Linked DNA regions of Homo sapiens: region 2 is linked to region 1. The links are contacts of gene promoters, found by promoter capture Hi-C in human tissues and cell types (Jung and others, 2019). All regions are on one chromosome and are shown on one strand. Each heading gives the region's core, a stretch centred on a gene start or on the middle of the fragment in contact. The rest is flanking DNA. Distances are from core to core; before and after follow the strand shown. Region 1 holds the start of FARSA (phenylalanyl-tRNA synthetase subunit alpha). Region 2 overlaps NFIX (nuclear factor I X).

What was found. The method cuts DNA at HindIII sites, captures the fragments that hold promoters and counts their contacts. A contact is called where the count stands out against the background at its distance.
Region 2: a contact is called between a fragment that was not itself captured here and the fragment with the promoter of FARSA in region 1, in 2 of the 25 tissues and cell types used here (lymphoblastoid cells and spleen).

Annotation. Positions count from the first base shown.
Region 1 is chr19:12,930,981-12,936,966 of GRCh38, reverse strand. FARSA (phenylalanyl-tRNA synthetase subunit alpha) reads left to right here and starts at 3,256. Exons shown (of 13, transcript NM_004461.3): 1 at 3,256-3,417. The coding sequence starts at 3,271. It overlaps FARSA-AS1 (FARSA antisense RNA 1), which reads right to left. Exons shown (of 3, transcript NR_149078.1): 2 at 3,930-3,997; 3 at 3,671-3,818. RefSeq lists enhancers at 163-292, 3,058-3,352, 3,074-3,573, 3,584-3,653 and a silencer at 1,916-2,021. The HindIII fragment of the contact is 13,322 bases long and covers 1-5,986 here.
Region 2 is chr19:13,062,987-13,068,972 of GRCh38, reverse strand. All of the region lies in intron 2 of NFIX (nuclear factor I X), which reads right to left. Among named protein-coding and RNA genes, the nearest start is that of LYL1, 37 kb to the left of the region's middle. The HindIII fragment of the contact is 5,516 bases long and covers 492-5,986 here.

The DNA.
Region 1 (5,986 bases), core at 2,007-4,506:
GTGACAGAGCAAGACTCCATCTCGAAAAAAAGACGGGGGAGAATGAACTGGGAAGTTGGGGTTCTACCACTTCCTCTAGGTAGTATTCAGTATTGCCTAGTCTGGTCCCCCCCATGAGGATCCCGGGGACCATCCCAGGCCTCTTGCTGACCCTTCCTCCTGTTCCTGTGTCAGGCACCTGTGGGCTTGGCGCTTCCTACTTGAGGTTAGACACTGCCTGTTTTGTTCACTTCGCATCCTCCAGTGTCACCTGCAGCACCTGGCACAGAACAGGCTTAAAAAGTACTTGCTGCATGATAGAAGAGAGGAAGGAAGGACTCTTGTGGAAATTAACTAAAAACACACGGGGCACAGTGGCTCACGCCTGTAATCCCAACACTTTGGCAGGCCAAGATGGGAGGAATGCTTAAGGCCAGGAGTTCAAGACCAGCCTGGGCAACATAGCAGGAGGCCATTTTTACAAAAACATTTTTTTTAATTGCCAGGCGTGGTGGCGCCTGCCTGTGTTCCCAGCTACTCAGAAGGCTGAGGCAGGAGGATCACTTGAGACCAGGAGGTTGACGCTGCCGTGAGCTGTGTTGTTGCCACTGCACACTCTAGCCTGGGTTACAGAGCAAGACCCTGTCTCAAAAATAAATAAAAATAAGCCGGACATGGTAGTTCACACTTATAATCCTAGCACCTTGGGAACCTGAGGCAGGCAGATTGTTTGAGCCCGGCAGTTCAAAACCAGCCTGGGCAACATGGTGGAACCTCATTCTTACAAAATATATATATGTACACATATGTAATATATTATATATGACATATAATGCATAAATATATGAATAGTATGTATATTATATATAGCATATAATATATAATATACATAACACAAATTAGCCTGGCCTGCTGGTACACACCTGTAGTCCCAACTACTCGGGAGGCTGAGGTGAGAGGATTGCTTGAGCCCAGGAGGTGGAGGCTGCAGTCAGCCAAGATCATGCCACTGCACTCCAGCCTGGGCAATAGAGTGAGACCCACTCCCTAAATAAATAAATAAATAATCAACATAAAATGGGAGGAGAGAAGGGACTTTGAGAAATGTATCCTTAATACAGAACCTCATATAGGGTCAGGATTTGGGGATATGAGTAATCCCATTTTACAGACTCAAATAATAATTGTGATGTAAAAGGAATAAATGTGTTCTGCTTATAAGAGTGTTCGAACATGGGCCACACTCAATTTAGTAAGCAGTGTGAATATGTGTGGGCATTTAATTCTCACAGTAACCTGGGCTCCAATCACCTCCATGTGAGCAAGAAACTGAGGCACAGAAAGACTACACCTTCTGGTTGAATGACATAAATAACAGATCTAGGATTCTTTTTTTTTTTTTTTTTTTTTTTTGAGACAGAGCCTTGCTCTGTCACCGAGGCTGGAGTGCAGTGGTGCGATCTCTGCTCACTGCAAGCTCCACCTACCAGGCTCAAGTGATTCTCCTGCCTCAGCTTCCCGTGTAGCTGGGATTACAGGCACCCCCACTGCACCCAGCTAATTTTTGTGTTTTTAGAGGAGATGGGGTTTCGCCATCTTGGCCAAGCTGGTCTTGAACTCCTGACCTCAGGTGATTCACCCGCCTCAGCCTCCCAAAGTGCTGGGATTACTGAGCCTGGCCAGCAGATCTAGGATTCTAATCTACCTGTGCTGACGTAAGTCACCACTGCCCACATGTGATTACTGACCATTTGAAATGTGGTTGGTCCGAACTGAGATGTGTTGTAAGTGTAAAATACGCATCAGATTTTGAAGATTTAGTATGAAAAAAAGTGCAATTTTTTTTTTTTTGAGACGGAGTTTCGCCTTGTCACCCAGGCTGGAGTGCAATGACACGATCTCGGCTCACCACAACCTCTGCCTCCCAGGTTCAAGCGACTCTCCTGCCTCAGCCTCCCAAGTAGCTGAGATTACAGGCATGCGCCACCACGCCCTGCTAATTTTGTATTTTTAGTAGAGACGGGGTTTCTCCATGTTGGTCAGGCTGGTCTCAAACTCCCGACCTCAGGTGATCCACCCGCCTCGGCCTCCCAAAGTGCTGGGATTACAGAGGTGAGCCACTGTGCCCGGCCGAGTGCAAAATATTTTATTAGTCATCTTTTTTTTTGTAAGAGTCAGGGTCTGGCTGGCTGGGCGAGGTGGGTCATGCCTCTAATGCCAGCATTTTGGGAGACCGATGCAGGAGGATAACCTGAGCCTAGGAGTTTGAGACCAGCCTGGGCAACATGGCCAAAACCCATACTTAAAAAAAAAAAAAAAGCTGGGTGTGGTGGCGCGCACCTGCAGTTCCAGCTACTCAGGAGCCTAAGGTTGGAGGATCCTTAGAGCCTGGGAAGTCAAGGCTGCAGTAAGCCATAATTGCACCACTGCACTCCAGCATGGGTGACAGAGCAAGACCCTGTCTCAAAAAAGAAAGATGTTTTGCACTGTGTTTCTATAGGACAGTGCTAATCTAGGCCATGCAGTATTTGCACTGACGTTACTCTCAGCGCACAGGGGTGGGAGGATCTGGAAGGTTTATAATTTATGACTTCATTTCCACCAACTCTCTGTAGAACCTTGGGCAAGTCATACCACCCTCTGAGCCTCAGTTTTCTCACATGTGTAATGCGGTTATATCAGTATCTACATCATAAAGTTTTGGGGATAAATGAAATACTACACGTGAAGTACTCAGTTCTGGGCTAAGTACTACCACATACGAGGTAGTCCACACAGGTTAGGTGCCACCTTGACTTACTAGGTGAATTCCTTTTCCCTCTATAAAAAGGGACGGTACCTACCCAGCCTTCCTTTGAAATTTTAAAAGTAGCTGACATCGCCAAAATGACCATCTCTGGAGCCCACCACCCACCGCCTCTCCTAGGGCAAGAGAGAATACCAGAAGGGCAGAGGGTTCTGTAACCCAGAGACGGGGAAGTCCAAGGTCACACAGCCCGCTCGAAGTGAGGCTAGATAAAACTCAAAACAGGGCGGTGCTTCTGACCTTGAGATAATCAATTTTACCCCTCTGGTCAACCAGACGCCATTGATGGAGCCAGGGTGGAGGTGGGAACTGAGTCCCATGCACCTTTTGCGGCTCCGTCGCCACACTCAAGATGACGACACATTGAGCCCTGTTCTACAGTTAGACACATTCAAGATGGCGGTACACACTCCGGTTCCGGTTCCGGTGGCTCAGCTCCCCCCGCCCACCCGGGCCCGGACACGCTGAGCACACTGGAAGGAGTCATGGCGGATGGTCAGGTGGCGGAACTGCTGCTCCGGCGGCTGGAGGCGTCTGATGGCGGCCTGGACAGCGCCGAGTTGGCGGCTGAGCTGGGCATGGAGCACCAGGCGGTGGTGGGCGCCGTGAAGAGCCTTCAGGCGCTGGGCGAGGTGAGCCGGGCCCGTGATGCCGGACCGCCTTGCCCTTGCACCTACAGTCCCCTTGCCACGGGCGCTCTACGTCCAAGCCAAATTCCCTCAGGCCTAGTTTGGGGTAGCTGTATATGTGTCCACTCCGGGATGTGCGGGCGGGAAGTGGGACGAGTGAGGGCCCAGACGCACGGATGTTCCTCATGCAATAAACGTTTATTGAGGCACGGTCAGCGTGGGTAGAGGGTACGATGATGGACGAGGAAGTCGCGGTTGCTGCCCTCACGCAGGTTGCGACGTAATAGGAAGGTGCTTCAAGAACCAGAGTGATGGGGGAAAACAGGGGACCCAGCTGTGACAGCTGACCCAGCCTTGGGGGTCAGGGAGAGCGGCCTGGTGCAGGTGACGGCTGAGTCTGTTCTCTGTTGAGGAAAGTGATAGCACTTTAGAGATCAGTGGCCGGGATCTTGGGGGATGGCAGGCGGCAAGGGAGACCAGCATAGCTGTAATTGCAAAGCCTCTTAGGTCTTTACCTCATGAGGGAACTGGGAAGCGATAGCAGGAGCTAGAGCCGGTCAGATGAGTGTGCTATCCACATCACCTTTGGGAAGAATTGGCATGGACAGGACTGGAGGTGAAGGGATGAAAGAAGAAGCTGGCACTTCCCCAAGCTGGAGGGCATGATGTCTGGCTATGGGAAGGAAGCTTGGGGGAGGTGGGGAAGGCGTGGGATTCAGGACAAGGCAGGGGGCGCACAGATGAAGTCCAGCCTTCTGACTTGGGCAAGTGGACAGTGACAGAGTCACAGGCGTAGGATGCTGAGGGGCCCGTGGGCCACCCAGAAGGCTAGATCCATGGGGCCAGGATCTGGGCTGTTTATCCGTAGAGCTCATGTTCTGTGCCCCACTTTGGTCTCAGCTTGTTTGTCCAATCCATTCCATAATCCTGGCTGATGGCCATGTTATTCCCATTTTGCAGATGTGACAACTGATGGTCAGTAACATAATCAGTGTGAATAGAAGAGGCCGATGAGCCCAGATTTGAAATTAGGCACTCAGGCTGCAGAGCCCATAGTCCTCAATGCAGAGGAGAGATGGCAGCTGTGTTGTGTGGGGTGACAGTGCCTTGACCAATATGATCTGACATTTGTATACGTCACAGAGGGTTAAATAATATAAGGAGGTGAGGTTCAATCTAATGACAGTAATAGCCATAAAAATAATTATAGTAATTAGAATTTATGCCGGGTGCAGTGGTCACACCTGTAATCCCAGCACTTTGGGAGACCAAGGCGGGTGGATCACGAGGTCAGGAGTTCAAGACCAGCCTGGCCAAGATGATGAAACCCTGTCTCTACTAAAAATACAAAAAAAAATTAGCCAGGCGTGTTGGTGGGCACCCGTAATCCCAGCTACTTGGGAGGCTGAGGCAGAGAATTGTTTGAATCGGGAGGTGGAGGTTGCAGTGAGCCGAGATCGCACTCCAGCCTGGGCGACAGAGCGAGACTCCGTCTCAAAAAAAAAAAAAAAAAAAATTTATGCAGTGTTTGTCACGTGGTAGGCACTATATATTCTTTCTGAGTATTAATTTAGCTACTCCTTAAAATCATCTGAGGTAGAACCCATCACACCTTTCTCTTATGGATGAGAAGAGTCACTGAGAGGTTAAGCAACTTTCCTGAGGTCACACAGTAAGTGAAGGGCAGAGTTGGGATTAGAATGAAGTGGGAGCCAGGCCCTGTGCACTCTACTTACCCTTGTTGTCCTTGTCTTCATGACTCTGGACCTGGAACCTCAGTTTTTGTTTGTAATGTGGACCTCCAGGGCCCGTCTCTGACATTCTGGGCACTGACATGTGAACATTTAAACATGGAGACAGGCTGGGTATGGTGGCTCATGCCCATTATGCCAGCACTTTGGGAGGCTGAGGAAGGAGAATCACTTGAGGCCAGGAGTTTGAGACCAGCCTGGACAACATAACAACACCCTGTCTTTAAAAAGTAATTTAAAGGGCCGGGCACGGCGGCTCACGCCTGTAATCCTAGCACTTTGGGAGGCGGAGTCGGCCGATTACGAGGTCAGGAGTTTGAGACCAGCCTGGCCAACATGGTGAAACCCCATCTCTACTAAAAATACAAAAATTAGCTGGGGGTGGTGGTGGGCACCTGTAATCCGAGCTACTCGGGAGGCTGAGGCAGGAGAATCATTTGAACCCGGGAGGCAGAGGTTGCAGTGAACCGAGATCGCACCATTGCACTCTAGCCTGAGCGACAGTGCAAGACTCCGTCTCAAAAAAAAAAAGTAATTTAAAAATTAACCAGGTGTGGCGGCACATGCCTGTAGTCCCAGCTACTCGGGACTGGCGGAAGGATCGCTTGAGCCCAGGAGGTCTAGGCTGCAGTGAGCTATGATCACACCACTGCACCCAGCCTAGTGACAGGGTGAGACCCCCTTTCAAAGAAAACAAAAACAAACAAAAAAATGTGGAGACATATCAGTTCACCTAATTTTTCACATTAAAATCTGTCACAGGTTCAAAACCGACAGAATTTGTCTTCTGCCAGGTAACATCTTTAGTGGTGTACTTTACC
Region 2 (5,986 bases), core at 2,000-4,499, 130 kb before region 1:
CATTCGGGGTCCCTGGTTTCTGGGCCAGGCTAGGGGAGGGAGAGTATCTCAGAGCCCACAGCTCATTCTCGATGCTGTTTGGGGGTGTCAGGCTGGCTCGTGTCACACAAACACGCAGCTCTGCGGGCTGTCCTTCTCTGGGGACCTGGGCTACTCGTGAGATCCATGTCTCTGAGGCAGAGGCCTCCCCTGCCCATGGTTCTGGCCACTTTGCAGGCTTCTGGAAGGGAGGGCTACGAAGGAGCAGGCAATAAGACTGGACTCCCTCCGCATGGGCCCAAGTGGGCTCTGCTGAAGAAGCCTTTGAAACGGGATTTGGCTCCAGGTTCTGGGGCCACTCTGTATTCATCTGCACACCACTGGTCATTCCACAGCAACAACAGCTTGTGGGCTGGAGGCCTCTGGCAGTGCCCAGACCAGAGCCAGGCTGAGCCAAGTGGCCACTCTGGGCCCCTCTCTTCCTTGGGGGCCCCTCAGTAACCTCTGGAACAGCCACAAAGTTCTCCTGCAAAATTGCCCTTCTCACACCCACACCAGCTCCCCTTCTCAGCCCCTGGAACAAGTCCCCACCTTACTTCTTTTATTCAGCTGCCTTTCCCCTTGGATCCCCATTTCTGATCTTACTTCCCTGTCTCCCTTGGCTCCCCTCCCTCTGTCCTTCCTTTGCCTCCCCCTCACCTCTTCAGCACCCCCCTCTTCCTTCTGCTGTTTGCAGGCACGTGTGCTTGTGCGTGTTTCCAAGAGGACACTGCCTCTTCAGTAGAGCTCTGGAGGGGAAGCTCCAGCAGCCAGGAGGAGCCTGGGATTGCACATAAACTCCAACTGACAGCATGTTTTTGTTTTTTGTTTTTGTTTTTGTTTTTTTTTTGAGATGGAGTCTTGCTCTGTCACCCAGGCTGGAGTGCAGTGGTGCGATCTCGGCTCACTGCAAGCCCCACCTCCTGGGTTCACGCCATTCTCCTGCCTCAGCCTCCCGAGTACTGGGAACTACAGGCACCTGTCACCAGGACCAGCTAATTTTTTGTATTTTTAGAAGAGACAGGGTTTCACAGTGTTAGCCAGGATGGTCTCGATCTCCTGACCTGGTGATCCGCCCGTCTCAGCCTCCCAAAGTGCTGGGATTACAGGCGTGAGCCACCGTGCCCGGATGCATGTTTTTAATATATATATATATATTTTCCACCTACAGATGGGGAGGTAGTTATGGCTCCCACTAGGGTGAGGGAGGAATTCCTGCTGGCTACAGCCAACACTGCCCTCAGCTCCTGCTCGAAACAAACTTGTACTGTGAAAGGGGCCATGTATAATTTGCTGGCCAATTGCCCCCACGGACTTTGGCCTAACAAGTTTTATGGAGGCTGAGGGGTGTGCACAGATTTGGCCTTAGCTGAACCCACATATGCATACCCAGGTATGTGCATACACTTGGATGCATACACTCATATGCTCAGACTCAGACACACACATACACACACACACACACACACACGCACACACACACACACACACGCGCGCACACACACGGAGGTGCCACTAACCACTTCTTGCCGTCCAGAAAGGGTGGAGTGAGATGGTACATCTGGAGCCACCAGAGAGGAATCCCCTTCAACTCTGCAGGAACCGCTGGCCTTTGGAAACGGGGAGAACAGCCCTTGGGGTGTGCCTGCCCATCCCCTGGCCCTCCCAGGCCTGACATTCCAGAAGCAAGTGGGGGTACATTCTGTTCTGGGGGTGCCTCTGGGCAGCTGCAACACCCCATCCTCTGAAGGGCTGATGCGATTCTGGGGCCAATCACTGGCCCTCCCAGCACTGCACCCGCCTCCTACTTCTCTCCCGCTTCCTCTGAGATTCTGGAGCGTCCAGGGCACAGGAAACCCAATCTCAAGGGGAGCCAGAGGCCCTGCCTGTAGCAATCAGAGCTGGAGAATGTAACTATTGTGCCTCCTGAAACTGAAGTCTGAGAATCTGAGACACCCTGAGGAGGGGAACGGTGGATAGATGGGGGGCTAAGGGGACGGGTCACAGAGGGGTTCTCCCCGTCTCAGCAGACAGGAGACTCAGGGGACCAAGGAAGTCCTTGAGAATGCAGGGCAGCCAGAGGGCCGGGGGATGAGGCTTGGCCAGGGTCTGGGCCCACGGGGCTTCTAGGATCTTCCTCTCCTTCTCTCCATTCCTCACCCTGCTCCACCAGCCACCATGCATGTGCACACACACATGTGCACAAACACACACACACATGCACACACACATCCTGGAGTCATCCTGAGGTGGCAGGTTTTTCCCTCCTCTGTCATCCCTAGAGTCTCACATGGTTTAAAGCCGGAGCCTGAACAAGAAGCAGAGCCCGCAAGCTGTGGGTGGGGGCAGGGATAAGGACAGGGGAACATGTCACCCCATTATCGTCCTCTCCCCTTTCCTCATTCCCTCCCTGCTCACAGATCCAAAGGGGCTTCTGCCTTTGACTTGACTGACCTGCTGGAGATGGGGGAAGAGGACATGGCAGAGGGGATAAGTGACAGGAAAGAGGAAGAAACCGAGTGACACCCACATGTGGTCTAGGCCTGCTCTGGCTGCCCCTAGGGCCTAGGCTCAAGAAAAGCCATTGTTGGGGGCGGGGGGGTAGGGAAGGCACAGGAACCTGGCAGATGAAGGGCCAGCATCTGGATGGGACATTCCCCTCTCCATCCCCTGACCCCAGGAAGAACTACTTTCTCCATTCCAACACATCCCGGCCTCTACGGGTGCCCCTGGAGCAAGTGCCAGGCCTGGCTACTACAGGACTCACAGCTCGGCAGTAAGGCTTCGGGAAGCGAGGAGAAAGCAAGTCCATCAGCTCATCTTGTACCCAGGAGACCAGCAGAGCAGTCTCACACTTCATCTGAAAGCCTCAGGCCCCACACGGTGTCGAGGTGAAGAAGGCCTGTCTCCTACAGTCCTTGGTTGCCTCCACTCCCCATGTGGAGATAGACTCATAGCCAGAAGCCTTCCAGCCACACAGCCCATCACTGCCTCCCTCATATAATGAGAAAGGTGTTCCTAAGCTTAAAATTTTCCTCCAGGAAAACAATAGAACTCCCACCTCCCTTCCATCCCCAGCAAGTGGCCCCGGAGCCCTCCAGGGAGTTCTTCTGGTGTGAGCTACTCAGCGTTCTCTGCTTGGCTCCCGTTCATTAGCAGCCGTCCCCAGCCCAGGGAGAACTCCTTTAGATGGGCCCAGGCATGGAGCGGCAGAAGAAGCCAGGAGGCACTGGGGAACTGAATGCTCAGTTGCTCTTCCCCAAGGGATGACAGGCAGTGGCCAGCAAAGGAGAGAGAGAAGGGATATGCCCCTGGTGCACAACAGAGCACCCAGCAGGTGGACAAAGGCCCACCTGCCAATGGCCACTCCAGGATCAGCCCAACAGTTAATAAATGAGACCCCCAGCCACAGCAGCAATGGGACATGCGAGTGGGCCTGCAGGCTCCTCCTGTGTCTGCCCATGGCAAGGTGACCCAGCACCAAACCTAGCACCTCAGATACCTGACTATGGAGGGAACAAGTGGACCCAGGGCATGGCAGCAGCACTGTCTGGGGTGTTTCAGAGATACCTGGGGTAGGAATTCCCATCAGAGCAGAAGAGATTGAAGATGACAGGCAAAGATCAGGCAAGGAAGAAGGCAAAGAAAAACATCTTGGGCAGGAGCCATTGGCCTGGGTCTGCTTCCCCTGTCCTCTGAGCCTGCCCTTGGCCTACCCAGGGAGGTGCCCTTGGTCTGGAGCCTGTGTCCACTGAGGGGGTACAACACAGTGCTCTACCACTGTGGATACCCTATCCTGGGTGAGCTGGCCTTGCCCCAGCACAGAGGGGCCGAAGGGGGCATGCTGAAATGGAGGGTAGGAGGAGGAAGGAGGTGGGTGGCCAGCAACGGCATACCAAGGCTCCCCCAATTCACATCCGTGCTCCAGAACCTACCAGCCTGTGACTTTGGTCAAGTTATGAACTGTTTCCTCATCTGTAAAAGGGAGATAACACCTACCATTAGCATTCCTGGGTAAGGAATAAATGAGAAAACATGTATAATAAGGTGCTTAGCTCAGGGCCTGGCTCATAGTTGGGGCTACATAAATGTCGCCTGTCCTTCCACCTGGATTACTATTTCCCTTCATCTCCATTTGCTGAATGCTTATTCCTCCTTCTCAACTCTGTTCAAATGCCACCTCCCACCCTGGTGGGGGAAGCTGTGGCTGACCCTCAGCTCCCCTCCCCAGGAGCTCACGCTCTTGAGTACATGGTGAGTGTGTCCTAGATTGCAGTTTTTGGTGTCTTGACCCAGGGACCACTGCCAGTGAACAGAGGGGCTCCCTTGGGGCCTGGCCCACTACCATCTACAAAGAGCAACAGAGAGGTTTCTCTGCAAATATAATGGCAGAGCCTGGGCAGACACCTGTACAGGCATATCCCTCCCCACATCGGTGTGCAATAGCCATCCAACGGTCTCAAGACAGTCACCATACTAGAAACAGGGGTGGGGGAGAGAGGGCCAACAGGGAAAAGGGAGGATAGAGCTTGTCCCCCTAGACTCTGGGAGTGCTAGGCCCAAGGCCTGCCCAGCCCAGCCCAGCCTTGGAATACAGAGAGCTGAGAAAACCAGGAGCACAGGCACAGGCCCATGGGCGTCCAGGCCAGGCGCCTCTCCTGGCAGTGCTGGCTGGTGCCACGATTCAGCCGGCAGCTGGAGCCAGCATTTCTGAGAGGGCCTGGGGCCAAGAGTCATGTGATGGTGGGGTCCAGGCAAGCGGCCCCCAGCCCCTGAAGCTTCTATCCCCTCCCCAACTTGACGAAGAAAAACTGACAGTGGAGAATGCCCTCCATACCCCACATGTCAAGAAAAGAGAGGGGCCCTGGGGAGGGGGGGGGTCCCATCCCAGCAAGGGGCCTGCAGAGCTGCTCTTCCACCCCCACCCGCTTTCTCTATTTCCAGCACTGCCCTTTCTGGCCCTTTGAGCTGCCCAGGACAGGACAGGCTGGCCAGACAATCACCCTCACCCCCAGCTGCTCTTAGGGCTATTAATAGTGTCCCAACCTCCCAGGGCTGGGCATCACCCTCCTCCTACCCCCAAATACACTTGCCCTTGGTCTAATTATTCATAAAGGGACAGAGTCCTCCAGACTCTAATGCCAACCTGGTATGAGAAACAGGAGGCGGAGGCTCTGCAGGCCACTCAAGGGATGCGCCTGGGACAAGCAGGAGTTTGGAGGAGGGATGCGAGAAGGCAGGAAGCCCCAGAGCCAGAGAGCAACCAAAAGACAAAACTAAAACTAAAAGATAGAGAGAAAGGGAGAGAGAGGAGGAGCCACAGTAGAGAATCAGGGCCAAAGCAAAGAAAGAAGACTGGGGCAAGAAGAATCAGAGCAGTACAGTACAAGATTCTGAGAGAGGCAGGGAAAGGGGACAAAAACAAAAAAGAGCAGAGAGGAAATTATTCCTTTGGGCGAAGAAAAAAAAAAACAGAAAGAGGAAAACTTTCCTAAAGATACTCAAGAGTGGCTTTGTGTGCACAACTGCTGGGCTGCATGCAGCTGCCAGCATCTGTCTGGTGGGCACTCAGCAGAGTGAGGAACTGGGGAGACCCCAGGACAAGGAGCCCCTACTCACCCACCCCTGAATGCTTCTGGGGAAGGGAGGGAAGGAAGAAGAAAAGGAAAAGGAGAAGGCTCAGAGAAGGAACAACTGGCTAAGAAAAGGAAGGTGGAAGAAGTGAGACCCTATAGAGCAGGAAATTCACTTTAGCCCAGGGCAGGGGAAGGTCCCTAAGCTCTCTGCCTATTTGCCTGAGGAAATCAAAAAGGACAGAGGGTCGGCAGGGATTGGGGAGCATCAGCCTCCCCCACCACCTCTCTCTGCCCCCTGCTCTCTTTCTGGCCTTAAGCAGGGTTCTGCTCCTGCCTCCCTCCACTGTTCCCTTTCCTTGGAAGAATCCATCCAGGAAACCTCAGGGCCTGGG